Regions from separate parts of the Homo sapiens genome. Here regions 1, 2 and 4 are each linked to region 3. Evidence: promoter capture Hi-C in human tissues and cell types (Jung and others, 2019). All regions are on one chromosome and are shown on one strand. The core of a region is centred on a gene start or on the middle of the fragment in contact, and the rest is flanking DNA. Distances in the headings are between cores, read along the strand shown. Region 1 holds the start of MED26 (mediator complex subunit 26). Region 2 holds the start of CCDC124 (coiled-coil domain containing 124). Region 3 overlaps NR2F6 (nuclear receptor subfamily 2 group F member 6). Region 4 holds the start of SMIM7 (small integral membrane protein 7).

Region 1 (2,700 bases), core at 106-2,605, 610 kb after region 3:
TTTCTCCTCCAAGTGTGATGTAAAACTTTTCACATGTGCAGAAGCACGCAACCATAGCCACGTGCAGAAGCAGCCGTTTTTGCAAATGAAAATATTTCCCAGAAGCACAACAAATACAAGACTAACAGGTGTCGGGCAGCTCCAAGGCACACATGTGGTTCTCATCAGCTGTCTTCCTCCTGTTTTAAATCTAGGTCTTCCTGTAACAGTGGGAAAAAAAAGATTTCTCCCGAGGCCGCCGAGCTTGCCTTTCCATCCCGTCTCACAAGAGCATTTCCAACAGAGCTCCCAGAGAGAGGGGAGCAATTACCAAGGCAATAAACAGGGTGGAGGGAGGAGGGGCGCCCTTAAACTTGACATCTGCGGTTCTGGGCTTAACCCCGAAGTCTAGGTGACCTTGGGCCTCCGTTTCCTCCTCTGTGACGTGTTTGGTTAAGAGAATGAGCATCTCAGTTTTACAGAATCTCAAGGCAGAGGCGGGTAGAAGGGTCTTTCAATCACGGGGTTCTCTGCCGGTGGGGGGGCGGGGGGACTGTGCCCCCACAAGGGACGGCGGCAATGACTGCAGATTGGGGGAGGGGGCGCTTCGGAGGCCAGAGATGCCGCTCAACTTCCGACAGATCGGGGGACCCGCCCCGAAGACAGAGCGATCCCGCCCAAATGCCAGTGGTGCCGAGGTGGAGAAGCCGCCGCGTAGACGCAGATTTGCAACCTCCGGCTTTCCCAGCTACGGCGGGCGGCTTCTGCCAGAGGCGCTTTGCCGCCTCACGTTTTCGCGATCGGGGTCGCGCGTGGCGGTGCAGACCCCCGCCCTGCCACCACACCCATTCCCACACCCTCTGAGGGGCGGGGGGGCCGCGGCGACACCCCCGGACTCCGATGACCCTTCTGCGCGCAGAATCACAACGTGGACGTCTGGTTCCCTCGCCCTCACAAAAAACTCGGCAGCTGCTCAGCCTGCGACTCCCGTCCCCCAGTCACGCGCCGGGAAGGCTCTCCCAGAGGAAGGATTTTCCCGCCGCCCTCCCCGCCCCGAGGTAGCCGCTGCGAGCGTCCGGGTTCAAGGACTCTTTGCGCGCGCGCTTCCGTCAGAAAGCCCCGCCCCGTGACCTGGACGGGGGCCGTTGCCCCGCCCAACCTCCTCCCAACGGCTGCCTAGGCCGGGCGGCTGGGCGGGGCGTCACGGGCGGACGAGTGCGCCTGCGCGCGCTTGCGCGGAGGCGCGGGGCGTGGCACACGGGCAGCCCCGCCCAGGCCTGGCGTCTCCGCCCGCCCCATCTCCCAACCTCCTCAGCGTGGCGCCGACGCTGCGTGCGGCGCGGACTACCCAGAGTACTCCGCGCGGGGGCAGCTCACTGGAGTTTGGTTCTCGAGGCGGCGGCAGCGAGCGGCGGCGGCTCCGGCGGCTCCTCCTCCTCCTTTGGTGGCGGCGGCGGCCCGGGACCGAGACCCGGCCCCGGCTCCCCTCTCCGCCACCCCGCGCGCCCCCAACCCCCCGGCGCCGCGGGGAACATGCGGCTCCGGCTCCCGGAGGCCGGCGAGTGAGTGACCCCCGTCCCCCGCCTCAGCCCGCCCGCCCGCTGGCCCGGCCGCAACCCCCCGCCTCGCCCAGGCAATGACAGCGGCTCCGGCGTCTCCGCAGCAGATCAGGGACCGGCTGCTGCAGGCCATCGACCCCCAGAGCAACGTAAGTACCCGCCGCGCGAGCTGGGACGGAGGCCGCATGGGCCCGGGACCCTCCCCCTCTCCTGTACCCCTCGCCCACCGGGCTTCGGGGGACCCGTCTGGCGCCCACCTCCCCTCGAGGGCCGCTGCCATCCCTGCCTCTCGCTTCTCGGGCCCGGGCCGGGGGCAGGTCGGGCAGCCCGGCAGCGCTCGGTACGTGAGGCCGAGGCTTCCGTGCGGCCTGGGCGGAGGAAGCAGACGGGGGAGCTGAGGCTAGAGTTTTTCCTCCCTTTCTGCTCCAGCTCTACGACCCTCACTGCTCTGGACGAAGCTTCTCTGCCTCGCCCTCCCTCCGGGACCCGAGACCCCCGGGAAGCCCTCCCGGAGCGGGAAGGGGAGGGAGAAGGGCTGTGAAGCAACTGGTGTCCGGGGTATGACTCGGGGAACCTATGTCTCCCATGTCTTGGCCTCCTGGGTGATCAGGGAAGTCCTTCTTCCCCCTCCTCTCGGCTGGCAGCACCTTCCTGGCTTCGGAGAGAACCCCCAGTCTGTTTTGCCCCTGGCCGGGTACCTAGGGTACGTGGAGAGTCTGTCTCCCTTCTGTGACTAGACACGCCTTTGCCAAAACCCTCTTGGGGTCGCTGCCGACGATAGATGATCTCGGGGAGGGTGGGATCCTTCCTGTTGCCTTTCTGGGCCTCAGTACCCATTGCGTCTCTGACCAAGCCAGAGCTCCATTTTTTAGGTAGTGAATTAAAGAGGACTTTTCTCTCCCGTTTACCCAAGAGCTCTGTTTCAGTAGGCTCTTTCCCTCACCTGGGGGTCTCAGCCTGGTGGTTTTTGACCCAGACTGTCGGGGTTAACTCCAGAGTGTCGCTTCCTCGGGTGCCCCTTTGCTGAGGCTACTGTTTGCGGAGGGACCGCCCCCTCCCCTTCCGTGTGTGTGTGTGTGTTGTTGCGGGGGTGGGGGGGTGGGGGGGAAGACTGATCTATTCTCATATTTTCTCCAAGAGTTTCTTGGCAGTAGGGGTCATT
Region 2 (2,726 bases), core at 110-2,609, 690 kb before region 3:
TGCTCTTTCACCCAGGCTGGAATGCAGTGGCACAATCTCGGCTCACTGCAACCTCCACCCACCCGGTTCAAGCAATTCTCCTGTTTCAGCCTCCCAAGCAGCTAGGATTACAGGCACCTGCCACCACGCCCGGCTAATTTTTGTATTTTTATAGAGATGGGGTTTCACCATGTTGGCATGTGCCACCATGCCTATCTGATTTTTGTATTTTTAGTAGAGACGGGGTTTCACTATGTTGGCCAGGCTGGTCTCAAACTCTTGACCTCAAGTGATCCGCTTGCCTCGGCCTCTCAAAGTGCCTGGATTACAGGTGTGAGCCACAGTGCCTGGCAATTTCTGCTGTTTAAGCCACCCAGTCTGTGGTATTAGTTATGACAGCCCAAGCTGGAAATACAGACACTTTTCTCTGTGTAGTAAACACTCACTCACTTGCACACGTCATTCAATAAATATGTACTGGGCACCTAATACGTGTGCGATGCTGGGGAAAGAGGTGGCACAAATGAGCTTTCTGCCTGCATGGGACTCCCAGAGAAGAGCCAACACATGCAATCAGAGTCCTAATAAGGACACGCAGGGCGCCGGGGAAGCCCGGAGAGGGCTTCTGACCCAGCCTGGGTCAAAGGGCTTCCTAAAGGAGACATCTAAGGAAAAGTCTGAATGAGTGGGGGAGAGCGCAGCCTGCACGCGGGATGCAGGAGGTAGGCTGGAAAAGGGGGCGATTTGTATTCCAGGGAGATGGGAAGGTGTGGAGGGCGTTAGAGCCGGGAAGCCCAATCTATGGGTCACACAAGCCCTCTGGGGTTAGTGAGGAGGTGGACTCCCCAGATGGCAGGAGCTGGGAGCCCAGGCGGTACCCAGGGAGTGGCTCAGGCTGGGCGAGGGGCACACTTAGAAGCGAATCAAGACCCATGGGGATTAAGACCCCACGGATGTGAAGGTAAAATAACAGAATACAAAATTCAACAATGCCTCCTCTAAGCAGCCCTCCCGGCTATCCCTTTTGAAGTCCCCCACCACTAATCCCCCTACAAGAGGCCGGGGGAGTCCGCGCCCAACTCTGTCCCTCTCGAGACCAGAAGCTGCCTAGGGGCAGTCCGGGGCCAGGTGGCCTCGAACATGCTGTCGCGTCGGGCTTCAATCGTCTAGTCTGGAAATGGGCATCGCCCCCAACTAGGTGCGGTTCAGACTGGACGCCAGAAGTGCTCCTGCCTCCCAGCACCCCTCCTCCAGCCTTCCCAGGGGATGGTCCCAGGCCAAGCAGCCCCCGCCCCGCGCCTCTGCTCCCCGAACCCGGGTTCCGCCCGCGCCGCAGACGCTCCTACCTTCTTACCCCAGCGCCGGCCCGGTCGCGCCTCCGTGACGTCATCATGGGGCCTGCGCGCTGAGCTCCTGGCGGCGCGCACTCATTGCGCCTCAGTACCGCCGCCATTTTGGTAAAGAAAAAGATGGCTGGGCCTCGGACCCAAGCCAGGGTAGTCAGCCACTTCTTTGTCTCTTCAAAAAGAGGACACTTAATACGCCCTCATTCCCTACGCTCATTTAATATGTTGATGAACCAGGAGGGGCGGGCAGAGGCGAAAATCTAGAACATTGCCTTTACCAAGATGGCCGATGCCCGGATGAAAGATGGCAGCTGCGACTACACACGTGGTCCGGCGGCTTCAGCCTGGAGCGGCCCGGCCGCCAGAGCGCGCCCGCGGTCCATGAGGGGAGGTGGACCCAGTATAGCCCTGAGGAAGCCTCTCCGTAGCTCTTCGCAATCCCTTAACGCTTTAAAAGTGCTTTCCTAGTCCTGAGTCTCTGCGTCCCACTGGTGACGCTGGGGCGGGGCTAGGAGAGGGGAGATAAATGGGGCAGAGAAATTAACACACACCGCGCAGTCCAGGTAGGGAAACCGAGGCTCAGAGAGACCAGGAATTGAGTTTGGCCAAAATGTAACCGCGAGTAGGCTCATAACCGCGAGTAGGCTCAAATTCCGTCTCTTGCTCCTGCCAGTGCCTCTTCCTGGATTGCTGACCTGCTCCCCACTTCTGCAATATTATTTATTAATTTTATTTAGAAATTAGGTTTGAGGCGCCAATTTGTCTTAGGCACTATACTTTAGATTTTCTGCATTTACTACTTCTCGGTGTTCTCAACAGTAAAAATGGCAGTATTAGGGGTCTAAGGTTACACTGGTCCTGACTGTGGAGAGGGAAAAGCAAATGCTTTGGGGGCAGTTCAGGTAGGAGTAGTTGACCACAGAGTCCATTCCCTAAAAGGCATCCCCCCAGCGACCTTGCTGGGACCTAAATCCCAGTGCGCGATGCACCTCCCCTGCTCTAACGCCTCCCCTGGGTTCCCATTGTCCCGCAAGACTCCTCCCACCTCCCACCCCATCTCCCTTGGCTTCCCTCACCCTCCCATTAGCTCTCTGCTCAGGTCGCACCAGCCCCCTTCTTACAAATTGCCAGGCGCAGTCTTGCCTCAGGGAGTTCCCCCAGGAATTTCCCAGGTTTTTCCGTGGCCAGTTCCTTCCCTTCAGGCATGAGACAGAAAGGTCTCTGGGTGCAGGGGGCTTAAAGTCGGAAAATCACATGAAAGATTATTATCCTGGCTGGTCGCAGTGGCACATGCCTGTGATCCCAACCCTTTGGAAGGCTAAGGTGGGAGGATCGCTTGAGGCCAGGTGTTTGAAAGCAGCCTGGGCAACATTATGAGACCCCATCTCGACAGAAGATAAA
Region 3 (2,883 bases), core at 174-2,673:
GGGCTTGCCCATCTCAGGGAACCCCTCTGGGCTCACTCTGGGCCTTGGGTCACCGGAAATCGCCACTGGAAGGCCGGCAGGGCCACCGGAATTGACTGAAACGTCCCTCTCCCCCAGGGGTGGGTGCAGACCTGGGGCTCCTGGAAAAATCCCTCAAACTTTGGGTGTCTCTGAGACGGGCAGGGAGTGAAACGTTTCCGAGCAGGAGCCTTGGGCTGTCCCAGGTCGGAGACCTCTCTGGCAGGGCGTGGCCTTGCTAGCTGTTCTGGCGGAAGGTCCCCAGGGAAAGCGATCGGGGTTGTCCAGCCCGGGAGTTCTTTTCTCACCGTTCCCGGGCGAGCATCCGATCTGTCCGTTTATAAGCCCCTACTCTGCACCCCAGGAACATGCAGGGTCTCTGTGGAGCCCGTCTAGACGGTCTCAGTTCCCAGCTGCCCAAAACAGAGGCCCAAAGGCCCAGAGAGAGGTCCTGGTGCCTGCTTTGCGTTGGACATGGAGGGACGCTGCCCGAGTTGGGGGCACTGTGGGGGAACTGTGGGGCTAGGGTGGGGACCGCTGAGTTCGGATCGGAGTGGCCCCAGGGAGAACGGCTGATGGAAGGCTTGTTGGCTGAGGCCACCAAATAGGGCCCCAGGTACCCGAGGGTGGAGTTTGGCCCCAGGTCCCGGGTCAGGGCTGGCCTGGTGTGGCCATGTGTGGCAGAGCTGCCTTGCTCCCTCCTCCAGCACAAAGTGGGCCACTAGACTTTGGCCTCATTCTTGCTGCTGGAAAACCGCCTGCTCTCTGGTCATATCTTTAGGGAGGGTAAGGGAGGGGGGCTCAGGCAGTTTTGGGGTCCCAGGAGCTTCCTGAGGGTGGTGTCAGGGAGCAGCAATTTTGGGTGGGGGGGGCCTTGCTTGGAGCTGACAGGTTTGTGCTGTGTCAGTTGTGTGACCTGGTGAAATCACCATTCCATTCTGAGCTTCAAATGGATTGAGCAGGGTCTCGCTGGGGCCCAGCCTGGGTAGTTTGATGCCAGCCCCTCCAGAGAGACCCCAGCTCCAAGTCTAGCTCCTGAGAAGCCCCCAGTCTGGAGGAGACACAGTGAGACAGATGCCCCAAGTCTGTGGGATCTGGGGTCCCAGGGAGAGAGCAGAGGCTCTGCCTGGAGGTCAGAGAGGGCTGCCTGGAGGAGGCTAGGGGACATGAGCCTTGAAGCATGGAGTTGGCAGGTGGAAGAAAGGCCACAGGGACATGCCAGAATGTGGTCCAGACAAAACACTTAGTGGCAGACTGGGGGAGCTGTGCTGTAAGAGGGGGACTGTGCAGCCATGGGAGAAGTCAGAGCTAGGTGGGCCTGAAATGCTGGCTGAGGGTAATGGGGAGCCATAGAGGGTGTGTGAGCAGGAGAGGGCTCTGATCAAATTGGACTGGAGGCCAGAAGCCCAGGGAGGAAGCTGAGTTGGGCCATGGGGTTGGGCAAAAAAGCTTGCACTCTTTAGGTGGGATAACAGGAAGAACTTAACTGTTTCCCTCCTTGGAGGGATGGATCTGTCCCAATTCCACAGCTGGGGAAGTTGAGACTGAAGGTTCAGGGCCTCCCCTGAGGTCAGGGGCCCCTGAGCTGGGCCTCTGCCTGCCTGCAGGGCCGCCCCAGGCCAGGCCGTTTCCACCCGGCTGCCCTGGACCCTCCCACCACCCAGCCGCTGGGCTTTGTTCTGGTTCTGCCTGAGCTCCCTCTGCCCTAGTGGGGCCTCTTCCCAGGGGCTCAGTGGCTGGTGCTGCAGGACCCAGGCAGTGGTGGAGGGGGGGTACGGGGGAGTGGGCGCAGATCCTCAGCTTTCCTAAGTTGGGTTCTCCGGCTGGGCTCTGGGTCTTGGCACTGTCCCCCGTGAACCCCTCTGACCCAGTCCATCCCATATGATAGGGCAATATCTGACCTCCCATTTTCAGATGAGGAAACCGAGGCTCAGTGGGGCAGTCGCCACCTGAGGGGCAGGGCTGGGTATCTGCAGCTGAGATTCATCTGTTTTGTTTTGTTTTGTTTTGTTTTTGAGACGGAGTTTCACTCTTGTTGCCCAGGCTGGAGTGCGATGGCGTGATCTCAACTCACTGCAACCTCTGCCTCCCGGGTTCAAGCGGTTCTCCTGCCTCAGCCTCCCAAATAGCTGGGATTACAGGCATGCGCCACCATGCCCGGCTAATTTTGTATTTTTAGTAGAGACAGGTTTTCTCTATGTTGTTCAGGCTGGTCTCAAACTCCCAACCTCAGGTGATCCGCCCGCCTCGGCCTCCCAAAGTGCTGGGATTACAGGCATGAGCCACTGCACCCAGCCTTTTTTTTTTTCTTTTTTTTTGAGACAGAGTCTCACTCTGTCACCCTGGCTGGAATGCAGTGGGTCAATCTTGGCTCACTGCAACCTCCACCTCCCCAGTTCAAGCGATTCTCCTTCCTCAGCCTGCCAAGTAGCTGGGATTACAGGCATGCGCCACCACGCCCAGCTCATTTTTGTATTTTTAGTAGAGACGGGGTTTCACCATGTTGGCCAGGCTGGTCTTGAACTGACCTCAGGTGATCCACCCTCCCCCGCCTCCCAAAGTGCTGGGATTACAGGCGTGAGCCACTGCAGAGATGCATCTGTTTAATTCCCTTAAGTGGTGGTTCTACTCTGTGACTGTCTCTGTGTGTCCCCTGGGTGTCCAGCTGGAACCCCAGGGGTAGTTGCTCCAGGCCCAGGCCTTGGAGAGCCCCCAGCTCCTGGTGGCAAGAGACCAGGGGAGTCCAAGGGCAGGGGCCAAGGGGAGAAGGTTCTGGGGACATTTGAAGAATAAGGCCTGGACCTTCCTGCTTGGGGGCTGACCCAGGATGGGGAGCTCACCACCTCTCAGGGTGGGGCCACCTGT
Region 4 (2,836 bases), core at 1-2,500, 580 kb after region 3:
CCGGCCCGCGCCACCCGCTGCCGGTCCCCTCCAGCCCCCCGCCCCGGCTCACCTGGCTCATACTTGAGGTAGAGGATGGAGACGATGAAGTAACTGAGGTCGAAGACGGGGAAGAGCGGCACCCGCGAGAAGCTGAGCGCCAGTTCGCCCAGGCTCAGCGCCGAGAGCAGCTCCATGGCGCCCGCCTGCCCGCCTGCCGGGTGCCACCCGGGGCCCCGGCCTCGTCCGTCCCGCCGCCCGCGGCCCGGCGACTGCGCCCCCGCAGCTGGGCCCGCCCCCGCCCGCCAGGCGCCACCCCAGGCCCGGCCCCCGCGGGAGAGGAGGGGCGACGGCCCACCCCGGGACAGGTGGTGGGGACGCCCAGCACCACGGACGCAGCTGGACGGTCGGGCGTCCCAGGCGTTGACCCTCCTGCCATCGCTACCCCGTTCCGCCCAGCGAGGCGGGGTGCGGGGCACCCGTGCAAGGCGAGGGAGGCTGGGGAGCTGCCTGTTCTGGGGGCCCGTCCCTCACGGAGCCCACCCACGCGGGACGCCCGTTCCCAGGGGGCCGGATCGGCCAGGACTTTGTCCCCGTGGGCTCAATTAGGACCCCGATCTTCGGTGGAGCCCAGTGAGGACCCCTACGCCATGGTGGGACCCCATGAATCAGAACCCCTGTTCCCCGTGGAGATAGGTTAGGACCTCGGTCCTCTGTGGAGCCCCGTCAAGACTTTTCTGCCCCATAGGGTCCGTTCGATCAGGAACCCCGTCTCCGGTGGGGCTCTGCAAATCAGGACGTCTTGTGGGGGGCAGCTCAGTGGGAACCCCCGTTCCCCATGGGGCCCAGGAGGATCTCATTTTAGAGCCCAGTTGGTTGGGGCACCCGTTTCTAGGGACCCCACTGCGTCAGGACCCCGCACCCTGTGCAGCTCAGGAGTCAAAGGATTCCTTTTGTCCAGAAGCCCAATTTGGGACCCCAGAAAGTGAGTAGGAATTGCTGCCCAGCTAACCCTACGGCATCGAGACCTCACGCATGCGCGGCACGCTTCGAACGCGTGACCCAATCCCGCCCCCAGGAGACCCCGCTCCTCCCATTCTGGCTCTCGGGGCCTCCCCAGCGAGGTGGGGCGCTCGCGCTCCCCTAAGGGGGTCTGGCCTGCAGAGGGCGGGACCCTCCCAGCCTTGACCTTCGATTGGCCCAGCCCTCGCCACTGTTGCTTTAGGATTGGTCGGCTTGTGCTCCTCTCCCCTCCCTCCCTGGGGCTTCCGCTTCCGGTTCTGACGGACGCTTCGGCCGTAACGATGATCGGAGACATCCTGCTGTTCGGGTAATTAGGGGGACCAGAGGCTGGGAAGAGAGAGCCAGGCAGGACGCGGGGGCGCCCCTAGTAACTGTAATTCTCCCTCTGCAGGACGTTGCTGATGAATGCCGGGGCGGTGCTGAACTTTAAGCTGTGAGTAGGTCGCGGCCGGACTGCGGCTCCATCCGGGGAACCCGTAGCCCCGCCCTCATAAGCGTGATCTCGGCGCACTTCTCAGGCCCCGCCCCCAAGCCGCAGGCCCCGCCCTATCCGCCCTCTGGGCACGCCTCCAGCCTGGTTTATCTTCCTCGCCCCCCACCCCCCGAGAGACCTTAAACCCATACTCTCCGTTCCTTGGTTGTCCCTCTGTTCACCTTCCTGGAGAGCTTAAGCCCCATCCCCCAAGAAATAGCCCCACCGCGGACCTTCCGCCCTGCACCCGCACTGTCGGGCCACTTTGTAAACGGTCGGTGGCTGCTGACCTGGCTGTGATTGTCCGGGCAGTGGGGGCCCAGAGAAGGGTATTGAACGTCAGAGGTCACACAGCAAGTTTGCGGCAGGGCCAGGGCTGAAACTTAGTGTTTGTGGCCTTCTGAGCTGGGGGTCAGGGGGCTGAGGACTCTATGTCCCATTGAAAGTGGACACTGTCTGCTCCTCTTTGTAGGAAAAAGAAGGACACGCAGGGCTTTGGGGAGGAGTCCAGGGAGCCCAGCACAGGTAAGGTCTAATTGGATCCTGGAATTGCATGGTCCACTTCAGAGGACAGTTCTGTTTCGCCAAGCCCTACCTTCGTTTTCTTTCTTTCTCTTTTTTTTTTTTTTTTTTTTTTGACACAAGGTCTTGCTCTGTTGTCCAGGTTGGAGTGCAGTGGTGCGATCATGGCTCACTGCAGACTCGACCTCCTGAGCTAAAGTGATCCTTCCACCTCAGCCCCCTTAGTAGCTGGGATTACAGGTGTGTGCCACCATGCCAGGCTAAATTTTGTATTTTTTGTAGAGATGGGGTTTCTCCACGTTGCCCAGGCCGGTCTCGAACTCCTGGGTTCAAGTGATCCCTGCCTTGGCCTCCCGAAGAGCTGGGATTACAGGCGTGAGCCACAAGTTTTCTCTTTAATTGAGCGTGTGTGTGAGTGGGAGATGACTGAGAATGTGCTAGCCTTTCTGCCTACCTCTGTCATCTATTTCTTTCTCCTACCAGACCTCCCTGATGTGAGCACTCACATCACTTCCTACCGTTATAATGTTCTGTTATGTTTGCTGTCATCTGGCTAATGTCTGCCCCTCACATATGACTGTAAACTTCAGAGAAGAGGCCCTAGCTTGGCTTGTCCCATCCTTTGTTCTTGCCGTACCCGTCCTCCGATGCCTGTGAATGAATGAATGAACAACCTCACACATAGCTGTTGCTTTCAGAGTGCTGCAGACCTGCCACTTTTAAAATTAGATGCCAACATTAGATTTTTAATCAGGAGATTTTATATAAAAATTAAGATGTCTGATTTTTCTTGAAAAATTGGAACATTCTGCAACTCAAGATTCAGGAGAGCTGTTTGCA

The links. The method cuts DNA at HindIII sites, captures the fragments that hold promoters and counts their contacts. A contact is called where the count stands out against the background at its distance.
Region 1: the fragment with the promoter of MED26 here is called in contact with a fragment that was not itself captured in region 3 in 1 of the 25 tissues and cell types used here (dorsolateral prefrontal cortex).
Region 2: a contact is called between the fragment with the promoter of CCDC124 here and a fragment that was not itself captured in region 3, in 1 of the 25 tissues and cell types used here (spleen).
Region 4: the fragment with the promoter of SMIM7 here is called in contact with a fragment that was not itself captured in region 3 in 1 of the 25 tissues and cell types used here (dorsolateral prefrontal cortex).

What each region holds. Positions count from the first base shown.
Region 1 is chr19:16,626,859-16,629,558 of GRCh38, reverse strand. MED26 (mediator complex subunit 26) reads left to right here and starts at 1,355. Exons shown (of 3, transcript NM_004831.5): 1 at 1,355-1,687. The coding sequence starts at 1,616. It overlaps LOC105372296 (a long non-coding RNA gene), which reads right to left and starts at 1,127. Exons shown (of 2, transcript XR_936361.3): 1 at 311-1,127; 2 at 1-200. RefSeq lists enhancers at 142-191, 296-1,227 and silencers at 742-821, 1,072-1,331, 1,432-1,491. The HindIII fragment of the contact is 10,464 bases long and covers 1-2,700 here.
Region 2 is chr19:17,931,648-17,934,373 of GRCh38, reverse strand. It overlaps CCDC124 (coiled-coil domain containing 124), which reads right to left and starts at 1,359. Exons shown (of 5, transcript NM_001136203.2): 1 at 1,326-1,359. RefSeq lists a silencer at 1,197-1,246 and enhancers at 1,327-1,516, 1,537-1,596, 1,743-2,281. The HindIII fragment of the contact is 29,527 bases long and covers 1-2,726 here.
Region 3 is chr19:17,241,469-17,244,351 of GRCh38, reverse strand. The region is part of intron 1 of NR2F6 (nuclear receptor subfamily 2 group F member 6); the gene reads left to right. Among named protein-coding and RNA genes, the nearest start is that of NR2F6, 3.0 kb to the left of the region's middle. The HindIII fragment of the contact is 5,712 bases long and covers 1-2,883 here.
Region 4 is chr19:16,658,558-16,661,393 of GRCh38, reverse strand. It overlaps SMIM7 (small integral membrane protein 7), which reads left to right and starts at 1,250. Exons shown (of 5, transcript NM_024104.4): 1 at 1,250-1,309; 2 at 1,394-1,435; 3 at 1,947-1,999. The coding sequence starts at 1,284. TMEM38A (transmembrane protein 38A) reads right to left here and starts at 255. Exons shown (of 6, transcript NM_024074.4): 1 at 53-255. The coding sequence starts at 176. RefSeq lists silencers at 188-437, 458-657. The HindIII fragment of the contact is 23,986 bases long and covers 1-2,836 here.